Linked DNA regions of Homo sapiens: all the other regions are linked to region 1. The links are contacts of gene promoters, found by promoter capture Hi-C in human tissues and cell types (Jung and others, 2019). All regions are on one chromosome and are shown on one strand. The core of a region is centred on a gene start or on the middle of the fragment in contact, and the rest is flanking DNA. Distances in the headings are between cores, read along the strand shown. Region 1 holds the start of CUL9 (cullin 9). Region 2 overlaps UBR2 (ubiquitin protein ligase E3 component n-recognin 2). Region 3 has its middle 8.7 kb from the start of UBR2.

Evidence for each region. Contacts are between HindIII fragments. The study calls those that stand out against the background at their distance.
Region 2: a contact is called between a fragment that was not itself captured here and the fragment with the promoter of CUL9 in region 1, in 1 of the 25 tissues and cell types used here (mesenchymal stem cells).
Region 3: a fragment that was not itself captured here is called in contact with the fragment with the promoter of CUL9 in region 1 in 1 of the 25 tissues and cell types used here (spleen).

The regions. Positions count from the first base shown.
Region 1 is chr6:43,180,724-43,184,962 of GRCh38, forward strand. It overlaps CUL9 (cullin 9), which reads left to right and starts at 1,473. Exons shown (of 41, transcript NM_015089.4): 1 at 1,473-1,526; 2 at 3,579-4,182. The coding sequence starts at 3,588. It overlaps SRF (serum response factor), which reads left to right. Exons shown (of 7, transcript NM_003131.4): 7 at 1-783. RefSeq lists an enhancer at 1,144-1,213 and silencers at 1,464-1,603, 1,624-1,673. The HindIII fragment of the contact is 4,480 bases long and covers 1-2,818 here.
Region 2 is chr6:42,646,447-42,650,664 of GRCh38, forward strand. UBR2 (ubiquitin protein ligase E3 component n-recognin 2) reads left to right here. Exons shown (of 47, transcript NM_001363705.2): 22 at 1,672-1,724; 23 at 3,838-3,940. Among named protein-coding and RNA genes, the nearest start is that of PRPH2, 74 kb to the right of the region's middle. The HindIII fragment of the contact is 3,772 bases long and covers 180-3,951 here.
Region 3 is chr6:42,553,154-42,557,518 of GRCh38, forward strand. No RefSeq gene overlaps it. Among named protein-coding and RNA genes, the nearest start is that of UBR2, 8.7 kb to the right of the region's middle. The HindIII fragment of the contact is 6,616 bases long and covers 1-4,365 here.

The DNA of each region.
Region 1 (4,239 bases), core at 223-2,722:
TCAGAAACAGGGCAGCAGTGGGGTGAAATTTTCTTAACCCCTAAGACTGCCTTCAGTAGGAACAAGCTGGCTTCTGTGATTAGGTGAAGGGATGGGGGAAGATTTTATGCACAGCCTAGTTATCAAGGGGATGATTTGCCGACATGTTTGAGAACCCCCTAACCTCTAACCCTCATTGCTGTCTTGCCCCAGTTTGGGGTGCCAAGATGGAAGTCACCTTTCTGGGCTTTCTCCTGGAGATAGCTGGGGCTTATGGGTGGCTTTCAAGGCTGGGGCATGGCAAATCAGGGGCCAGAGAGCAGGGGAGCTTGGGACTCAGGTCTGTAACTGCCCAGCCCCTTTTCTCTGCTCTTGTTTCACTCCACCATCACTCACTCACTCCCCACTCCCCCACCCATGGGGAGGAGACCTTTGATGAATTCTTCCTCTCCTTCCCACAAAAGACAGACCCAGTGAGTGAATCAGGCAAAGTGCTTATAATGTGTGTTGTGTGAGCGTGGCCTTGGGAGGACATGCGTGTGTCAGGGATGAGTTGAGGTGATATTTTTATGTGCAGCGACCCTTGGTGTTTCCCTTCCTCGGTGGCTCTGGGGTATGTGTGTGTGGGTGTGTGCGCCTGAGTGAGTGTGTGTGCTTGAATGTGAGTGTGTATGTCAGTGGTTTCTACTTCCCCTGGGATGCTGACCCAGGAATAGTGGACATGGTCACAGTCCTATGTACAGAGCTTTCTTTTGTATTAAAAAAAAATACTCTTTCAATAAATGTATCATTTTTGTGCACAGACTGTGGGGTCTTTGGTTCTGTTTTTCTACTTAGGGAGGGATGGGGGTATGAACGCGAGGCAAACTCCTAAAATTGCTGCTCTGAGTAGCGATCCGGGCTGCTTGATGAGAACGGTAATGCTAAGGTGTGCTTTGGGCTGTTTAATTCTATACGATTTAATTTAAGGAAAGTTTTGCGGGGCCGAGGACCTTCTCCCTGTGCGTGGCTTCGCTAGGTGTTAAGGCCAACGCAGAGGAGCAAATTTTAATTAACAGGAAAAGTGACACAACTAATCCAAAGCATTGCTGAAGGGTTTGGGAAACTCATGGGCACCTGACCTACTGAAAAGTCAAAAAGGGCAGCCTTAAGGTGGGAATGTGGGTTACCATGTTTCGTCAGCATGATCGCTGTGATGGGAGAGGGAGGATTAGGAGGGCCGACCCAGTGAAGAGGAGGGGGCTTCACAGTTGACTGGATGGAAACGGCTTCTTCCTGCTGCTGAGAGAGGAGCAACGTGACCTCGATCCCAGGCTCCTCCGGTAGCGCGCCCCCACGCCCCTCTTCCAGTGCAGCCGCCCGCGGTAGCACGCATGCTCCACTCGCGCGCTGTTCCGCCACGCTCGGCGTGGGCCGCGGTGGGACCCGTAGGTGCCCGGCCGTGCGTGCACTCGCCGTGTGACCCGGAAGGGAGCTCTGAGGAGGCGGGGCCAGGACGGCGGGACCGGCCGCTGGGTCCCAGCGAGGGCTGAGCCGGGCGGTGGGAGGTGAGAGGAGAGTTCTGCGCCGACCCAATCCCTCCCCTTCTCCTGTCCCCTCCCCGGTCCTTTAGCCACTGTCCATGGGGCTGACGAAGGGAACCAGGTCTTGCTCTCTGAGATTCACTGGATCTTTTCAGCTTTTTTGGACCGCGCCCCCAACCATCCTTCCCCCTCCCCCCAAACCCGTTCCCTCTGCGGTGCTGGCCTCCTCCACCTCCCCACGGCTCTGCAAGCTTGGGCTTGACCTTGCTATCTGCTGGTCTCATCCATGCGTCCAGAGCTCACCCCCACACCTCAGTTTATTGTTGCTCTTCTAGGCCGACGTTACACCTCCTACCTCCTCCTATCCGATTCTTTTACTTCCCCCTGCTGCTAATCAGTTGCCCGCTGGCACATCGCTGGCTACCATCCAGGCTTGCCCCCCATCCTAAGTGGACCCCTACCTCCATTGAGGTCCACATCCATCTTTCTCCCTCCTCTTCACCTCTACTCTCATCTTCTGTCCCTGTACCCCAACATGACCCCTGCCCTGACCACTATATCTTCATCTGGGTTTACCTTCTTCCATTCTTATTCTCACTATTCCCTGTTGCCCCTGCACTGCTTCATATCACGCATATCTTTCCTGATTATTCCACTCCCATTTATAATCGGTCTTAATAACTTTGCATTTATTTGATGACTCCCCTACCTTCTCCATCTAAGAATAATAACAGATTATGTTTACTGAACACTCTTTATGTGCTAGATGCTGTTCCAAGTGCTTTACATACATGATCCTACTAAATTCATGAAGTAACTATGAATATTACTACCATCTTGCAGAAGAGGAAACAAGCTCAGAGGTTAAGTAACTTGTTCCAAACTATGCAGACAGTGAGACAGAAAGCCAGAATTCAGAGTCACATTTATCTGATACTGAAGTCTCTGAATATTGCTTCTCTCCTGACCTCATTTCCTACCTTTAACCCCATGATTACCACCTCTATCTTATCTACTTAACTTACTTAAATCCTTACCATACATGCAGTATAAGGGCAGGGTGGGACCTGGTCATCTTTCCCATAATTTTATCTGGTCCCTAGGGCCCTCCCCCTTTCACAAGACTCGAATATACTTTTCCTATCCAGTCATTTGCCCCAACATCCCAGCCTTTTGTCATCTCCATTCTCTATATCTGCCATGGCCCACCCTTTACATCCACCTTGCAGCTTTACTCTGTCATTTATGCTCCCTGTCCTGCCCCTCCGCTATCCTACTTTTCCTCACATGTTCTGATCCCACTGCCTCACATGCTGCTGTCCTTCCTGTCCACCCATGTCATTCTTCTAAGTCCTAATCTGTAACCCTCAGCCACCCTGCTATCCTGCCTAAACTGTCTTGCTTAACTGTCACTCTGTTTATTGTTACTTTGCCTATTACTGTTTTAATTCTCTTTTTGTAAACTCCCCTTCCTTCCTTTCTTCCTTCCTTCCTTCCTTCCTTCCTTCCTTCCTCTCTCTCTCTTTCTTTCTTTTTTTCTTTTTTTTGACAGAATCTCACTCTGTTGCCCAGGCTGGAGTACAGTGGCGCGGTCTTGGCTCACTGCAACCTCCGCCTCCTGGGTTCAAGTGATTCTCCTGCCTCAGCCTCCTGAGTAGCTGGGACTACGGGCATGTGCCACCACACCTGGCTAATTTTTGTATTTTTAGTAGAGACGGGGTTTCACTATGTTGACCAGGCTGGACTTGAATTCCTGACCTCGTGATCTGCCCACCTTGGCCTCCTAAAGTGCTGGGATTACAGGCGTGAGCCACTGGGCGCAGCCAACTCTTCCATTTCTTAAACCCCTTCTTCATCCCCTCTCTGTCTTCACTCCATTCTCCTTCTGTTATAAATCCCAAAGTATGTTCAGCTATTTATTCCATCCTATTTTTTGCCTTTTCTGTTTGGCCTCCTAAATTCTACCATGCAGCCTACCGATCACCACCCACCTTCTCTGTGTCTCAAGATTCCACCCCCTCCATGTATTTTTTTTCTTTTCTCATACTGCCTTATCTTTCTCCTTGTGTATCCCAGGAGGTCAGGATGGTGGGGGAACGGCATGCTGGGGACCTCATGGTGCCCTTAGGGCCTCGGCTGCAGGCATATCCTGAAGAACTCATTCGACAGAGGCCTGGGCATGACGGGCATCCTGAATACCTGATCCGATGGAGTGTCCTGAAGTGTGGGGAAGTGGGCAAAGTGGGTGTGGAAGAAGGCAAAGCAGAGCACATCCTCATGTGGCTGTCGGCTCCTGAGGTCTACGCCAACTGCCCTGGGCTGTTAGGTGAGCGGGCACTATCTAAGGGACTTCAGCACGAACCAGCTGGGGTTTCAGGAAGCTTTCCTCGAGATCCAGGAGGCCTGGATGAAGTGGCAATGGGAGAGATGGAGGCTGATGTTCAGGCGCTGGTACGCAGGGCGGCCAGGCAGCTGGCAGAAAGTGGGACCCCAAGCCTCACGGCCGCTGTGCTTCACACCATCCACGTGCTCAGTGCCTACGCCAGCATCGGGCCCCTCACTGGTGTCTTCAGGGAGACAGGAGCCCTGGACCTGCTCATGCACATGTTATGCAATCCTGAGCCTCAGATCCGCCGGAGTGCAGGCAAAATGCTGCAGGCTCTGGCAGCCCACGATGCTGGTAAGAGACAGCCAGGGAAGAAGGAAAGGAATGGAGAAAATGGGGCCACAGGGAATA
Region 2 (4,218 bases), core at 816-3,315, 530 kb before region 1:
CTAACCTCTGTGCCCCACTGTATTATTTCCTAGAGAATACTATATTTACCATTTCATCTATAAATAGGACTATATGTATCTAAAACAGTGATTCTCAACTGAGGACAATTTTGCCCCCCAGGGGACATCTGTGAATGTTACTACTCAGGGCAGGATGTGGAATGCTACTGGTATCTAGTGGGTAGAGGCCAGGGATACTGCTAAACATCCTACAATACCCAGGACAACCCCCTACAACATATCTGATCTGAATGTCAGTAGTGCTGAGGTTGAAAAACTCTGATCTAGAAAATGAGGACTCTTAAAAACCCTATCTTTATGTTATCACACTTTTAAAAACAATAATTTATATATATATGTTTATATATATATATAGAGAGAGAGAGAGAGAGAGAGATAGAGTCTGGCTTGGTCACCCAGGCTGGAGTACAATGGCATGGTCTTGGCTTACTATAACCTCTGCCTCCCGAGTTCAAGCAATTCTCATGCCTCAGCCTCCCAAGTAGCTGGGATTACAGGCGCACGCCACCATGCCCGGCTAATTTTTGTGTTTTTAGTAGAGATGGGGGTTCTCTATGTTGTCCAGGCTGGTCTCGAACTCCTGGCCTCAAGTGATCTGCCCACCTCAGCCTCCCAAAGTGCTGGGATTACAGGCATAAGCCACCACACCTGGCCGAATGATGAATAATTCCTTAATGTCACTAAATATCTAGTCAAGATAAAAATTACTTGTACTGCTTTAATGCAGGAAGTGAATCCCAAGTTGTTCAATTAGGAAGCAGTTATAATTTAGCCTAAGCTTTAAGGAACAATAAAATTTCAAAAAGCATTTTTTAAGTGGTTTAAGATTGTCGGCCGGGCACAGTGGCTCACGCCTGTAATCCCAACACTTTGGGAGACCAAGGTGGGCGGATCAGGAAGTCAGGAGTTTAAGACCAGCCTGGCCAACACAGTTAAACCCCATCGCTACTAAAAAAAAAAAAAAAAAAAAAAAAAAAAATTAGCCAGGTGTGGTGGCAGGCGCCTGTAATCCCAGCTACTTGGTAGGCTGAGGCAGGAGAATTGCTTGGACCTGGAAGGTGGAGGTTGCAGTGAGCCAAGATCATGCCATTGCACTCCAGCCTGGGTAACAATGTGAGACTCTGTCTCAAAAAAATAAAAAATAAAGTGATTGTAACTGTATTTCCCAAACATTTTAAAGAATTATTTATTCACAGAATTCCTATTAATATCTTATCGTGAATGAGATATGATTGGGGAAGTGCTGTTGTACTGAAAATAGACAAGAAATTAGTGCAACTATTTTATAAAATACCAGACGTATTTTACATAAACTTTTTTAAATGTTTTATATACTTTGTGTTTTCATTTAATTCCTTTAGAAAGCTCTTACCTTGATTCTATATGGCAGTGACTTTTTAAAAATCATAAAGTTTTATCTATTTTATGTATTTAAAAATAATACATCAATTTGAATAAACATCAGCTTGCCGAGTAAGTATGTCTAGTTTTGTATTAATCATTGTATTTGCTATGGAATCCTCATCTGTAAAAATGGAGATAAGGTGTATCTACCTTAGGTTGTTATGAGGGTCAATGAGATAAAACACAATGCTAAGAGTGCTAGTAGTTATTATTAACATGAAACACACTTGTGTCCTGTACCTTTAGGAGAACAAGGAGACTGGCATGGAGAGTGTAATCGAAGCAGTTGCCCATTTCAAGTGAGTTTACTTCCTATTATTTCACATTCTTTTTTACTTTTCCAGTACATTCATTTTTCTTAGAGTGTTTTCTTTGATGCAACTGAGAATGAAGTTGCAGCTTTCAGAGATTGACAGACATTTTCAAATTATAGCTCTGAATTAGATTTCTCACTGACATTTCACTTTTCTGATCTCACCCTGTACTCAGCAACGTAAAGTGACATTGTGAGGGTTTTCGTCACATTCAGAATAGGTGTTCATAGCTGATGGTTTCAAATAGTAAAAATTAACCTCAGCAGTGATCTAAGTAAATGCATTGTAATTTCTTAAAACTGTTTTGTTTCCATTTGAATGTGCTGCCTAAATTGTGGGATAGCCTCTCAATGCCACCTTCTCCAGTGTCCACAGTCTTCCCCCAGTCAATAAACTGGTTTATACCCTTAAAGATATTAAAGCAGTTTCTTAAGCCTGTTTTTTCTTTGCTTCCTACCCCAATGACAATGTATTCATTTTTTTTAACCCACTATAAATTTTTGAAGATAGTGTCTTTATTTTTTGTTGGTTATAAAGACAATACTTGCTTTTAGGAAAAATACAAAGAAAAAATATTACCTGTAATCCAACCACTCAGATGATTTCTATTATGTTTAGATGTATATCTTTCTAAATTTTTTTTCTATACTTGGAACACATATTTATAACAAAAAATGGGTTCATTTCGTATTTACTATTCTATAACCTTTTTAAAAATTAAATAATGGAATGTTTCCATGTATTTGTGTCTTTGGGGGGGCGGGTTGTTGGTTTTATTGGGTTTTTTTAGTTTTTACATAATATACTTTGTCAGTACATATAGGCATACTTCATCCTTTTTCACTTCAGCCTGGGTAACAAAGCGAGACTCAAGTGCAGTGGCACGGTCTTGGCTCACTGCAACCTCCGCCTCCTAGGTCCAAGCAATTCTCCTGCCTCAGCCTCCCAAGTAGCTGGGATTACAGGCGCCCGCCACCACACCTGGCTAATTTTTGTATTTTTAGTAGACATGGGGTTTCACCATGTTGACCAGGCTGGTCTCAAACTCCTAACTTCAGATGATCCAGCCCGCCTCGGCCTCTCAAAGTGCTGAGATTACTGGCATGAGCTATGGTGCCAGGCCCTTTTTCACTTCCTTGTAGTCATGTACTGTAATGTATCTAACCTCTTCCCTATAATACATAGCTTCCAGATTTTCTCTTATAAACAAATATTGAAAATCCTTGTACATACAGCATTAACAAATGTATCTTTGACTGTGAAAGTGTTTCTTTGAGGATTAGCTAGATCAAAATGAAAGCTTGTATTACATTTTGGTACATACCTCCTAATTGCCTTCCCAAAAAAGTCCTCGATTTACACTCTGACTAGAAGTGTATAAAGAGTGCCCTGCAACTTTGTCAACACTTTAATATGAGCAGTCTTTTAGTACCTTATTTTAATTTGCGTTACTCTAAGTGAAGTTGAGCTTCTTTTCATGTGTTTATTGGCCGTTTATTTTTTCATACTTTAATGCATTTTTCTTTATGGTTGTTTGTCCCTATCTTATTGTTCCGAAAGTATTATATATTAGAAATGTCAATTCTTATTTAATACATCACAGTACTTTCTTCCAGTCTCCCTTGTTTTTTAACTTTCTGTTTTTAAAACTCTGTCTCAATTGGCTTCTGGGTTTTATAACTTGCTTAGGAAAGTTCTCTAAACCCCAATAGTGTACCTGCTTTTTTCTGCTTAATAGAACAACACGGAAGTCTTTACATGTGAAAATAGAGAAATTATCACTGTTAATGGTGTTCAGTTGTTTGGAGATGTTGTAATTTGTTATTTCACGTTATTAGACTTTTTAATTGTTGCCACTGCAGTGTCCATCACGTTCACTTGTCTAGTTAGGATAAATTCCAAGTGGGCATGCTAAATAAAACAGATGCATGTAGAACTCGGATTTAGACTGCCAAATCAACCCACTGAAAATAGTTGTAGCTTAACACCCACCAGCAGTATATGAGAGCTCTGCTTTCTTGTTCTAATATCCAAGACTATCTCTCATAAATTAGTGTATGGCTTTGGTAATAATATTCTAAGGTCCTTTCTTTCACAGGAAACCTGGATTAACAGGACGAGGCATGTATGAACTGAAACCAGAATGTGCCAAAGAGTTCAACTTGTATTTCTATCACTTTTCAAGGGCAGAACAGTCCAAGGTAATTGGGAAAATTAAAAATGTAGCAGGGAAGGATTGCATTGTTTTTCTTAAGAGATGAGGTTTCACCATGTTGCCCAGGCTAGAGTTTGGTGGCTATTCACAATGCCATTATAGAGCATTGCAACCTCAAACTCCTGGGCTCAAGCAATTCTCCCACCTCAGCCTCTTGAGTAGATGAGATTACAGGCATGCACCACTGTATCTGGCTTGAATTTTTTTTTCCTAAACAACTTTTTTACTGCTTTTGCAGATTGAAAAATGATACATTTTTATTGT
Region 3 (4,365 bases), core at 448-2,947, 630 kb before region 1:
CTGTAATCCCAGCTACTGGGGAGGCTGAGGCACAAGAACTGCTTGAACTCGGGAGGCGGAGGTTGCAGTGAGTCGAGATGGCACCATTGCACTACAGCCTGGGTGACAGAGCAAGACTGTTTAAAAAAAAGAAAAAACGAAGGAAGGAAGGAAGGAAGGAAGGAAGGAAGGAAGGAAGGAAGGAAGGAAAGAAAAGATTTAAAAAAATTTTTTTTTTGAGACAAGGTCTCGCTCCATCACTCAGACTGGAGTGCAGTGGAGCAATCTCAGCTCTTGCAACCTCTGCCTCCCAGGCTCAAGTGATCCTCCCACCTAAGTCTCCCGAGTAGCTGGGACCACAGGTGTACACCACCATGCTCCGCTAATTTTTTAAGGTTTCTGTAGAGACAAGGTGTCACTATATTGCCCAGGCTGGTCTCGAACTCCTGGCCTCAAGAAATCCTCCGGCCTTGGCCTCCCAGAGTGCTGGGATTACAGGCATGAGCCACCACGCCCAGCCCAAGATAAAATTTATAGACCACTGGATGTGTCTCAGTACAATGGGAGATTTAGACAATTGACAATTCGAAGTTCAGTCCCAGGAGATAATTTATATCAGCAACAACAGGTACAGAAAACATAAAATGTTCTTCAGAATCTTTTTAGTTTATATTTATTTATATAATGTATTTTGTTAACTTTTTTATTGTCTGAGGGCTCTTTGTATACCAGCGCTTTATAATATTCCCACTAGAGACTAAAGGAAACCCACTCTCAGTACTTCCCAATGAGAAGAAAAAAGTTGCAATTGGCTGTCACCAAAGCCAATGTCCCTGTAAAAGTGGGAGGCGGGTAACCTTGTCCCCAAGAAAAGCAGAGTGTATGCCTACAGAGTTTAACCACGGATACAACTATCTTGGTGTTGAGAGGTGACAACCTGCTAGCAGCCCTCGCTGGCTCTCGGCGCCTCCTCGGCCTCTGCGTCCGCTCTGGCCGCGCTCGAGGAGCCCTTCAGCCCGCCGCTGCGCTGTGAGGGCCCCTCTCTGGGGCTGGCCGAGGCCGGAGCCGGCTCCCTCTGCTCACTGGGAAGTGTGAAAAGAGAGGCGCCGGCGGGAGCTGGGGCTGCGCGCGGGCTCCGCAAGTCCCGCACTCTGCGCGGCGGGCCGGCGCCTGCTGGGCTTGACTGGGGGACGAGCTCCCTCTGGGCTGCCGGAGTGCCCGGCTAGGTGCCCCAAAATCCCGCAGCCAGTGCCAGTGACAAGTGAAGCCGGCTAGGCTTCTGGGATATTGGGGACTGGGAGAACTTTTCTGTCTAGCTAAAGGATTGTAAACGCACCAATCAGCACTCTCTGTCTAGCTAAAGGTTTGTAAACGCACCAATCAGCACTCTGTCAAAACGGACCAATCAGCTCTCTGTAAAATGGACCAATCAGCTCTCTGCAAAATGGACCAATCAGCAGGATGTGGGTGGGGCCAGATAAGGGAATAAACGCAGGCCACCAATGCCAGCAGCAGCAACCTGATCAGGTACTCTTCTGTGTGGCGGGGGTGCTTTGTTCTTTTGCTCTTTGCAATAAATGTTGGTGCTGCTCCGTCTTTGGGTCTGTGCTGCTTTTGAGAGCTGTAACACTCACTGTGAAGGTCTGCAGCTTCGCTCATGAAGCTAGCGAGATCACGAACCTGCCAGAAGGAAGAAACTTCAGACACATCTGAAGGAACAAACTCTGGACACACCACCTTTAAGAACTGTAACACTCACTGCAAGGGTTTGAGGCTTCATTCTTGAAGTCAGTGAGACCGAGAACCCACCAATTCTGGACACAGTGTGACACTCCTGAGATAGATCTATGTCCAATGTTTTGAAAGAATTCCAGGACATGAAAGTTCTCAATCTTTTACCCATGGCCTTTAAGATAAACCCGGCTAGACAGGGTGGCTCATGCCTCTAGTCCCAACACTTTGGGAGGCCAAGGCAGTGGATTGCTGGAGGTCAGGAGATCAAGACCATCCTGGCCAACATCATGAAACCCTGTCTCTACTAAAAATACAAAAATTTAGCATGCATGGTCGTGGACGCCTGTAATCTCAGATACTTGGGTGGCTTGGGGCCAAAGAATTGCTTGAACCCAGGAGGTAGAGGTTGCAGTGAGCCAAGATTGCACCACAGCACTCTAGCCTGGGCAACAGAGCAAGCTGGAAGAGAGAGAGAGAGAGAGAGAAGGAAGGAAGGACAGGAGAAGAGAAACCCAACTAATTAGTTTAGGACCAGTCCAGAAGAAGGGAGACTGGGTTTTGGCCTAACATACACAAGCTTGGTTATTTTAATTAGGAAATAAATAATTTGCCTAGAAGTAGGCCTGTAGGGGGAACAGCCTGTCTTGGGACGAACATGAGCCTTGGAGTTGGTGAGACCAGATTTCAAATGCCAGTTGAGCTGCTGATCTAACAATGCAACTGAATTGATTAGCTACTGGTACATACAAAATCACCTCAAAGTTTAGTGGCTTAAAACAACAAGCATTTATTTAGATTACAATTCTGCAGGTCAGCAATTTAGGCCAGTGCTCCTGGTCTCCCTGGCCTCTCTCACCTGCCTCTGAGGCAGGAGAATAGGGTTTGGAGGTAGAGAACCTAAGGCAGATTCACACTGACTTCCTAGAACTAAATCAAAAGGAAAACCGCAGTTGCAGTGAGCTGAGATGGTACCACTGTACTCCAGCCTGGGTGAACCCCAACTTTCCACACCCAAGTAACAAATGATCAGAGGCTACTCCCTTTGCAAGCCTCTCCTCCCTGCTACCCCACCCTGTTTTCTGCCTGGCAGATGAAAAACTGAAAGTACCTCTGATTGGTCCCCTCCTGGAACCAATCAGGCTGGTCAAGGGCCAAGTCTTCATTTGCATAGAAGTATAACTTTGTAACTTCAGCCTCTGATTGGTCACTTTTCGCAACCAATCAGACATTTGCATAGGGTGTAACTTGGCAACTTCAGTCTCTGGTTGCATTTACCTAGGGTGTATACCAAGTAACCAATGGGAAACCTCCAGAGGGTATTTAAACCCCAGAAAATTCTGTAACCAAGCCCTTCAGCTGCTTGCTCTAGCTGCTCCCACCCTATGGAGTGTGATTTTTTGTTTCAATAAATCTGTTTTTGTTGCTTCATTCTTGCTTTGTGTATTTTGTCCAATTCTTTGTTCAAAGCACCAAGAACCCAGACACTCTCTACCGGTAACACCTTAAGCTATCCACAGGTCAGCTAAATGATTTTGCTTTTGGGAGCTGGCTGGCTGTCAGCTAGATGCCTCTGTTCTCTTCCATATGATCTCTCATCCCCAAGTGGGCTATCCTGGACTTGTTCACATGGAGAAAGCAGGGGAGTCCTAGAGAGGGTTGAAGCGTCCAAGGCCATATTTAGGGATCTAGGTTTAGAACTGTATACTGTCATTTCTGCCACATTGTATTCACTAAAGCAATCATAAGGCCAGCCCAGATTCAAGGGGTGGTAAAACAGTTCCCACTTCTTGATAGAAAGAGTGGCTGAGTCACATTACAAAGGGAGTGGAGGCAGGAATGTCGTTAATTAGGGCCATAAAACTGCAATCTACCACGGTGACTGTGGCCAAGTTACTTTGCCTTTATGAGTCTCAGTTTCTTTTTTTTTTTTTTTTTTTTGAGACAGAGCCTCACTCTGTCACCCAGGCTGGAGTGCAGTGGCACGATCTTGGGCTCACTGCAACCTCCGCCTCCTGAGTTCAAGTGATTCTCCTGCCTCAGCCTCCCAAGTAGTGGAATTACAGACACCTGCCACCATTTCTGTATTTTTAGTAGAGACAGGGTTTCACCATGTTGATCAGGCTGGTCTTGAACTCCTGACCTCAAGTGATGCACCTGCCTTGGCCTCCCAAAGTGCTGGGATTACAGGCCTGAGCCACCACGCCCAGTCTATTTCATGAAGTCTTAACTGAAAATAATAACACATATCTGAAACAATTTTACTAAGGAATAGGAATAATATACCTATGCCTATTACTAGTGAGCATAGCATTTATTAGTTTATCTGAAACTTGTTGGCTAAAAGTTGCAGCTATCTTACTGTTCTTGATTCAAGTCAAGTTCATTTCACCCTCAGGGCCTTTGCAATTGCTGTTTCTTTTTGCCTGGAATGCTCTCATTTCAGATTTTCACATGATGGGTTCTTCTCACTCAGTACTCAGCTCAACTCCCCACTTCTCATGCACATCTCGCTGACCAACCTATCTAATGCCCTTACCTCCGTTTTCACCTTCACCTTCTGTATAATATTTATTGCCTTTTAACACTTGTCAATATCTAAAAATTATATAGTATATTCTTTAGCTTACTTTTTTATTTTTGAGACAGGGTCTT